Regions from separate parts of the Homo sapiens genome. Here region 1 is linked to region 2. Evidence: promoter capture Hi-C in 16 types of primary human blood cells and fetal thymus (Javierre and others, 2016). All regions are on one chromosome and are shown on one strand. The core of a region is centred on a gene start or on the middle of the fragment in contact, and the rest is flanking DNA. Distances in the headings are between cores, read along the strand shown. Region 1 overlaps HIVEP3 (HIVEP zinc finger 3). Region 2 holds the start of GUCA2B (guanylate cyclase activator 2B).

The links. The method cuts DNA at HindIII sites, captures the fragments that hold promoters and counts their contacts. A CHiCAGO score of 5 or more calls a contact.
Region 1: a contact is called between a fragment that was not itself captured here and the fragment with the promoter of GUCA2B in region 2, in 2 of 17 cell types (total CD4 T cells and neutrophils). The highest score is 6.7, in total CD4 T cells.

What each region holds. Positions count from the first base shown.
Region 1 is chr1:41,598,296-41,602,051 of GRCh38, forward strand. The region is part of intron 3 of HIVEP3 (HIVEP zinc finger 3); the gene reads right to left. The region is part of intron 1 of LOC128125817; the gene reads right to left. Among named protein-coding and RNA genes, the nearest start is that of EDN2, 120 kb to the left of the region's middle. The HindIII fragment of the contact is 2,226 bases long and covers 1,354-3,579 here.
Region 2 is chr1:42,151,969-42,155,685 of GRCh38, forward strand. It overlaps GUCA2B (guanylate cyclase activator 2B), which reads left to right and starts at 1,442. Exons shown (of 3, transcript NM_007102.3): 1 at 1,442-1,572; 2 at 2,712-2,898; 3 at 3,567-3,717. The coding sequence starts at 1,483. The coding sequence ends at 3,628. The HindIII fragment of the contact is 11,651 bases long and covers 1-3,717 here.

The sequences.
Region 1 (3,756 bases), core at 1,217-3,716, 550 kb before region 2:
TTTGTTTCTATACACGTGACTGTGGCACAAAAGGCACACCTACCTACAAGCTTCCTAGGTAGTTAAGGTTCTTGTGTCTACTATGGAGAGCAATACATAGAATACACAATAATATATACACACACACACTATAAGATGAACCACAGAAGAAAAAATGACTGGGAGACTGGGTGACATACAGAGTGTAGTCCAACAGAAGAGGTGGCGACTGCCTGTGGCTTCTGTCATTCTTGCCCACATGGCAGGATAGATATAACTGTATAGTAATGATAAAGCAGTTATAACGATCACTCTACTGCAACTCATTTCTTCATTTCTCCACTCAGTCTGCAAGTACTACGTGGGCCTTCTCAATGCCAGGCCAGTAAGATGAAAACAGACATAAATCATAGGCCTTACTATAAGCTACAGTAATCAAGACAGTATAGTATCGATACAAAGAGACACAAGAAGATCAATGGAAACAGAGTAGGGTAAGGAAACATACTCCCACACATACAGTCACATGATGTTATTTATTTATTTATTTATTTATTTAGGGACAGGATCTCATTCTGTTGCCCAAACTGGAGTGTAATGGCACAATTTCAGCTCACTGCAACCTCCACCTCCTGGGCTCAGGTGATTCTCCCACCTCAGCCTCCCAAGCAGCTGGGACTACAGACACGTGCCACCATGCTCGGCTAATTTTTATATCTTTTTTTAGAGATGGGGTTTCACCATGTTGGCCAAGCTGGTCTTGAACTCCTGGGCTCAAGTGATCCACCCACCTTGGCCTCCCAAAGTGTTAGAATTACAAGTGTGAGCCACCACACCCAGTCTCAGTCACCTGATTTACAAGAAAAATGCATCTGATAGAGAAAGTAATGGTCTTTTCAATAAATGGCGCTAAAGCTATTGGATATCCATATTAAAAAATGAACCTTGACCCCCGATATCATACCATACACAGAAAACGAATGTGAAATGAATAAATGATAGGCCTGAATACAAAAGATTAAACAATAAAGCTTGTAGAAGAAAACAAGAAAATATCTTCACGGAACTTGGGGTAGGCAAAGATTTCTTACTCGATTGACAAACGCGTAATCACATAATCATAAAGGAGAGAAGCTAAATTGTGCTTCATTAAAATTTAAAACTTCTGTTCAACAAAGACTCTAATAATAGAGTAGAAAGACAAACCATGGGTTGGGAGAGGATATTTGCAACACATGTTTGAAAACAAATTCCTAAAAATGAGTAAGAAAAAGGCAGTCAACGCACCTGAAAATGGCAAAAGTTAACTCAAAATGAATCAAAGACCTAAACTCAGAGATAAAACTATAGAACTCTTAGAAAACATAAGGAAGAAGCTTCATCACATTGGATTTGGCAGTAACTTCTTAGATGTGGCACCAAAAGCATACACAACAAAAGTACAAATAGATAAATTGCCTACATCAAAATTTAAAATCTTCTATGCGTGAAAGGACAACATCAACAGAGTAAAAAGACAAGAATGAGAGAAAACGCTTGCAAATCATATATCTGATAAGGGATTAACATGCAGAACTCCAAAACTCAACAACAAAAAGCCAAGCAAAACGATTTTTAAAAAAATGAGCAAAGGACTTGAAGAGACGTTTCTCCAAAGAAGATCTACAAATGGCCAAGAAGCACGTGAAAAGATGCTCACCATTACCAATTACTAGGGAAATGAAAAATCAAAACCACGAAGATACCACCTCACACACATTAAAATGGCTACAACAAAAAAAAGAAAAAGAAGTATTTGCAAGGATGTAGAGAAAGTGAGTGGAACTGTTGCACTCTGCTGGTAGGAATGTAAAACGGTGCAGCCTCTATGGAAAACACTGTGGTAGTTCCTCAAAAAATAAAAAATAGAATTACCATCTAATCCAGCAATTCCCCTTCTGGGTATATACTCAAAAGAATTGAAATCAGAGTCTCAAAGAGATATGTGTACATCTATGTTCATAGCGGCATGATTTACAACAGCCAAAGGTGGAAGCAATCCAAATGTCCATTGATGAATGAATGGATAAAAAATTCATTCATGTTGTAGCATGTGTCAGAATTTCCTTCTTTAAGACGGAATAATATTCCATTGTGTGTATGAAACTTGATGACATTATGCTAAGTAAGATAAGCCAGCCACAAATGAACAAATACTGCATAATTTCACTTATATGAAGTACTTAGAGTAATCAAATTCATAGAGACAGAAAGTCAACTGGTGGTTGCCAGAGGCTGTGGGAATGGGGGGCTGTTGTTTTATGGGTATACAGTTTCAGCTTTTCAGAATGAAAAGTAATCTAGAGATTGGTTGCGCAGCAATGTGACTGCTTAACACTACTGAATTTAAAATAGTAAAGTTGGTCAATGTTATGTCTATTTTACCACAATTTTTAAAATAGCAAAAGATTTTAACAGGCACTACAAGCAAGAGGTTATCTAAATGGTCAATAAGAATATGTCATGAAGTTTTCCCCTATGTTTTCTTCTAGAAGTTTTATGTCATAAAGTTTTCTCCTATGTTTTCTTCTAGGAGTTTTACAGTCTTAGGTTTTACATCCAAGTCTTTAATCCATTTTGAGTTGATCTTTATGTACGGTGATTTTTATGTATGGTTAATTTTTATGTAAGATAAGAATCCAATTTCATTCTTTTGCATATGAATATCCAGTTTTCCCAGCACCATTTATTGAAGAGACTACCCTTCCTCCATTGTGTTTTCTTGGCACCCGTGTTGAAGATCAGTCAGCATATATACTGGATTTATTTCGGGTTCTCTGTTCTGTTTCATTGGTCTACATGTCTGTCTTTATGTCAGTACCATACTGTTTTGATTAGTGTAATTTTTTATGCTTTGAAATTAGGAAATGTGAGGCTTCCAGCTTTGTTCTTGTGTCAGAGGATTGATTTGGCTATTTGTGTTTTTTGTGGTTCCATATAAATCACAGAATTGTTTTTTCTATTTAGGCAAAGTAATGTAATTGAGATTTTTATGGGGGTTTCATTGACTCTGTAGATTGTTTTGGGTAGTATGGACATGTTAACAATATTAATTCTTCCAATCCATGAACACAGGATGTCTTTCTCTTTGTTTGTGTCTTCTTTAATTTCTTTATTAAATGTTTTGTAGTTTCCAGTACACAAGTCTTTCATTTCCTTAGCTAAGTTCATTCCTAAGTATTGTTTTAGGTGTTATTATAAGTGACATTATTTTTCTAATTTTCTTTTCAGCTAGTTTGTTGTTAGTGTATAGAAATGCCACTGATTTTTGTAAATGATTTTGTATCCTGCAACTTTACTAAATTTGTTAATTAGTTCTAATACTTTTTAATGGCATCTTTAGGATTTTATATTATTTTGTCTGCAAACAGGAACAATTTTACTTCTTCCTTTCTGATTTAAATGTCTTTAATTTTTTTTCTTGCCTAATTGCTCTGGCTAGGACTTCCAGTACTGTCTTGAATAGAAATGGCAAGCAAGGGCATTCTTGCCCTTAGCTTCTTCCTGATTTTAGAGAAAAAACTTTTCCGTTTTTCACCACTGAGTATAGTATTAGCTGTAAGCTTGTTATATATGGCTTTTATTATGTTGAAGTACTTTCCCTCTAGTCTTAGTTTTTTGAGAACTTTGATCAAAAAGGGTGTGTTGAATTTTGTCAAATGCCTTTTCTGCATCTGTTGAGATGCTCATGTGATTTTAAGTCTTTATTCTGATAATGTGATGTATAACATTAATTAA
Region 2 (3,717 bases), core at 192-2,691:
TCCCAGATGGTTGTTTTCATTTTACAGATTAGAGGGCATGTAAGATTCCCTTCATTTCCATAGACTCTAAAGAGCAAAGGCTGAAGTCTGGATTCAAAGCAATACATAAGAAATTCCAAAGTTCACTTGAGCTTCTTCTTCATTTCAGTCTGAGATAAGAAAAAGGAAGATGGCATTTCAGGCAGGTGGAATGAGTAGGCAAAGACATGAGATGGGATTAGACCTGTGCAAATAGGGTTGGTATGGGGAAGCACGATGACATCAGATTTTAGCCACTTTTGGGAGTGGCATCTTAAATGCCAAGGTGAGCTATCAGGGCTTCAATCCAACGTTCAGGCTCAATGTCAGGGGAGCCTGCCACATGCCAGAGTCTGTGCCTGGCAGAGCTGAGCCCTGGCACACGCACTGTTTACAGCTGCCTGGTATGGCAGTGGTGATATCACCCTTAGAGACTTTGCCCTCTTCTCTCTGACCCAACCTTCAACCACTGGGGCAGTAGGTTATGCATTGCCTAGAAGGCAACTGTAAGATTCAGGGGCTGCTATGGATGCATTACCCAGGAGATAAGGGCAACCTCAGGTGGGCCGGGGCCCTCACAGCAACCTTACGAGAGGGGTTGTATCATGCCCATTTGATGGAAGAGAAAACTAAGATTCCATTAGAATTGATGTGACGTATCCTAAATCACACAGCTGCAGCAGGACTAGGATTTGAATGCGGGTCAATCTGCCTCCAACACTACTGCCTTTTCCTCCATGCTGGATTAGGCTATTGGCTTCTGAAAGCACAGACAGGTGAGATGGGTCAAACATGGCCTGAAGCACCCAGGCACAGGTGGGAGATGGCAAGCAGAGGCAGGTTCAAAACGTGGGGCCAGGACTGGTCTGAAAGATAGTCGTTAAATAGCACTGAGGAGAGGGAGTGAGAGAGATGTGGGTCTTGGGGGAGTGGGGTCTTGAGAACCCTGAAATCAGCAGTGTCTGCCCACTTTGCCCTGGACCAGCCTCTCTGTCTGTATCCTTCCCCCAGAGAAAGGACCATGGGCTGACCTGGGCCAAGGACACCTGGCTGGAGCCCCTTCTCTGACATTAACTAGCTCCGTGACCTGGGGAAAGCCACCCTCCCTCCTGAGCCTCACTTTTCCTGTCTGTAAAATGGCCTCCCCGTCATCACACCCACACAGGTGTCTTGAGGAGTGAATGATGGTGTGCTCCAAGGCCCCCATGGAGAGCCCGGCACATGGCAGGCACTCGGTGTTCAAGCACTGTGTTCCCATAGACTCTGGGCTCCTGCCCTCCTCGCCCCCAACCCCCTTCCTAGGAACCAGCCCCGGCTTGTCAGAGAGCCAGCTAGCTGTCAACCCCACCCCAGCTGGCCAGTTAATGAGTGACCAGGACTCCTGAGCCTGACCTATAAGGAGGTGCTAGGCAGGGACACAGATGGGAGACGGTGGACAGCGGCAGGGGGAACCCAGGGAGCGCGATGGGCTGCAGGGCTGCATCAGGGCTCCTGCCAGGAGTGGCCGTGGTCCTCCTGCTGCTGCTGCAGAGCACACAGTCAGTCTACATCCAGGTGAGTCCCTTGGCCAGCGTTCCCTTTGCCTGAAGGGCCCCATGGTGGGAGGCTAGGCTGGAGAGGGTGTACTGGGAATTCAGAGGGGCACCGGGGGAGCACGGGGCCCGGGGCTCAGCCCAACACCCATCACAGCCCAGAGACCAAGGCAGCTGGTGGGTGGGGGCAGCCAGATGTTGATGGCAGTGATGATGGCAATGACAACACCAAACTGATTCAGCGCTGCTCCCCTCAAAGGCCCGTGCTGGTCACAGAGGTCAGGGTGTGGAACAGAAGGCTCCTCCTTGCATGGGAGGAGGCCAGAAAGGGAAGGAGACACCCTGTTATGCTCCCACAGTTCCGTATATTCACCCACATGTAGGTGGAGGAGGACAGGCTCCAGAAAAATTTTCCTGAGAAGTAACCCTTGAGCTGGCATTGCAAGATGAACAGGAGGTTGCCAGACACAGATGATGGGGAAACTGTTCCAGGCCAAGGGGCACAGCATGTGCAAAGACCAGATAGAAGACTATGGGGGTTCCAGTGCCCTTCCAGGGGGCATGGGAGAGTGGCAGTAGTCGTCACAGCAGGGCCTGTCTGCCACGTCACAGGGGATGCTGCTGGCCTCGCCCAGCATAGCAGAGACGTCTGTGGCCCTGGGTGTCACATCCCTGACTCTGGGCATGGTCTCCTTGGGAAGAACAAAGTGGGTCCCAGAGAGGGGTGCAGGAGACTTGGCCTCCCCAACAGCCCTGGCCTCAGAGACCAGCTACTTGGGGCTGCCATCACTCTGCCATGTGAGCTCAGGCAGGCGTACTCAGTTAGTGATTGTGCCCTGGTACCAGGCCCCCACGGGAGATGTCAGATGAGGGAACTGAGGCTGAGTGGGGAACAGACAGGCAGCCGGTCATGGGCAGAGGTGGGATTTGAACCAGGGCTTGTCTGTCTCTAAAGCCTCGAACCACTGTGCTCCACAGCCCCGCTGCTTCTTCCTCACACCTCTCACCGCAGCGGCTCTTTCCAGTGTGGCCCTGGACTTCCCATAGAGACGGGGAAGGCTCTGGAGGATCTGCAGGGTTTGAGCAACCCTGGGTGTCATGGCAGTGCCTGCCCCTGGACCAGGTCTTGACCTGCTCCTATCTCCTCTCCCCTGTCTGTAGTACCAAGGCTTCCGGGTCCAGCTGGAATCCATGAAGAAGCTGAGTGACCTGGAGGCACAGTGGGCACCCAGCCCCCGCCTGCAGGCCCAGAGCCTCCTGCCCGCCGTGTGCCACCACCCTGCTCTGCCTCAGGACCTTCAGCCTGTCTGCGCCTCGCAGGAGGCTTCCAGCATCTTCAAGACCCTGAGTAAGTGCCCCCGCTCCCTGCAGAACCTCGCTCTGTCTCCTCCCACGCCCAGGCTCCTCCACCTGGGTTGTTTCTCTTAAGCACCCAGCGGCTGAGGATGGGGAGATTCAAGTAACTCAGGCCCTGTCCCACTGGCTCCCAGGACTCCCCGGTTTGGGCACTGTGAGTCAGGCATGCCTGGAACCTGCTTCGTCCCCTTAGTCCACGCCAGGCACAGACCCATCAACAGACAATGGCTGCGTGGAGCAGAGAGGAGAGCTGGCTGACATCTGCGATGGGACAGGGGTGTGAAAGGCTTCCAAGAGGAGGTGTCAGCCAAGCTGAAACCTGAGGGATCGTGCAGAGCCAGGCACGAGAATGTAGCAACTAGCTAGCACTTACTGAGCACCTACTGTGTGCCGGGACTTGTCGGTCCTGCATTATCTCCTCACAGTGACCCTGTCCATTTAGCAAACAAGAAATCTCAGGCACAGGGAGTGTGAGTGACTTGCCCAGTGGCCGCTAGGAAGGAGAGCATCTGGGACTTGAACCCAAGCCCTCACTCCACCTCTAGACGTTCCTGCTCCCAGTCTGTGGAAGATGCCGCCCATTCCCAAGCAGACCTCTTCTGCTGCCTGGCCACAGAGGGCCCAGGTTCAGGTCAACTGACCAGTTCTCTCCCTGCCCAGGGACCATCGCTAACGACGACTGTGAGCTGTGTGTGAACGTTGCGTGTACCGGCTGCCTCTGAGATAGCCCTGGGTACCCTGAGCCCACCAGGGACACCTCGCCCTTCAGCCCACCACCCTGGCAGGCTTCCATCCCCGTCCATGCTCAAGA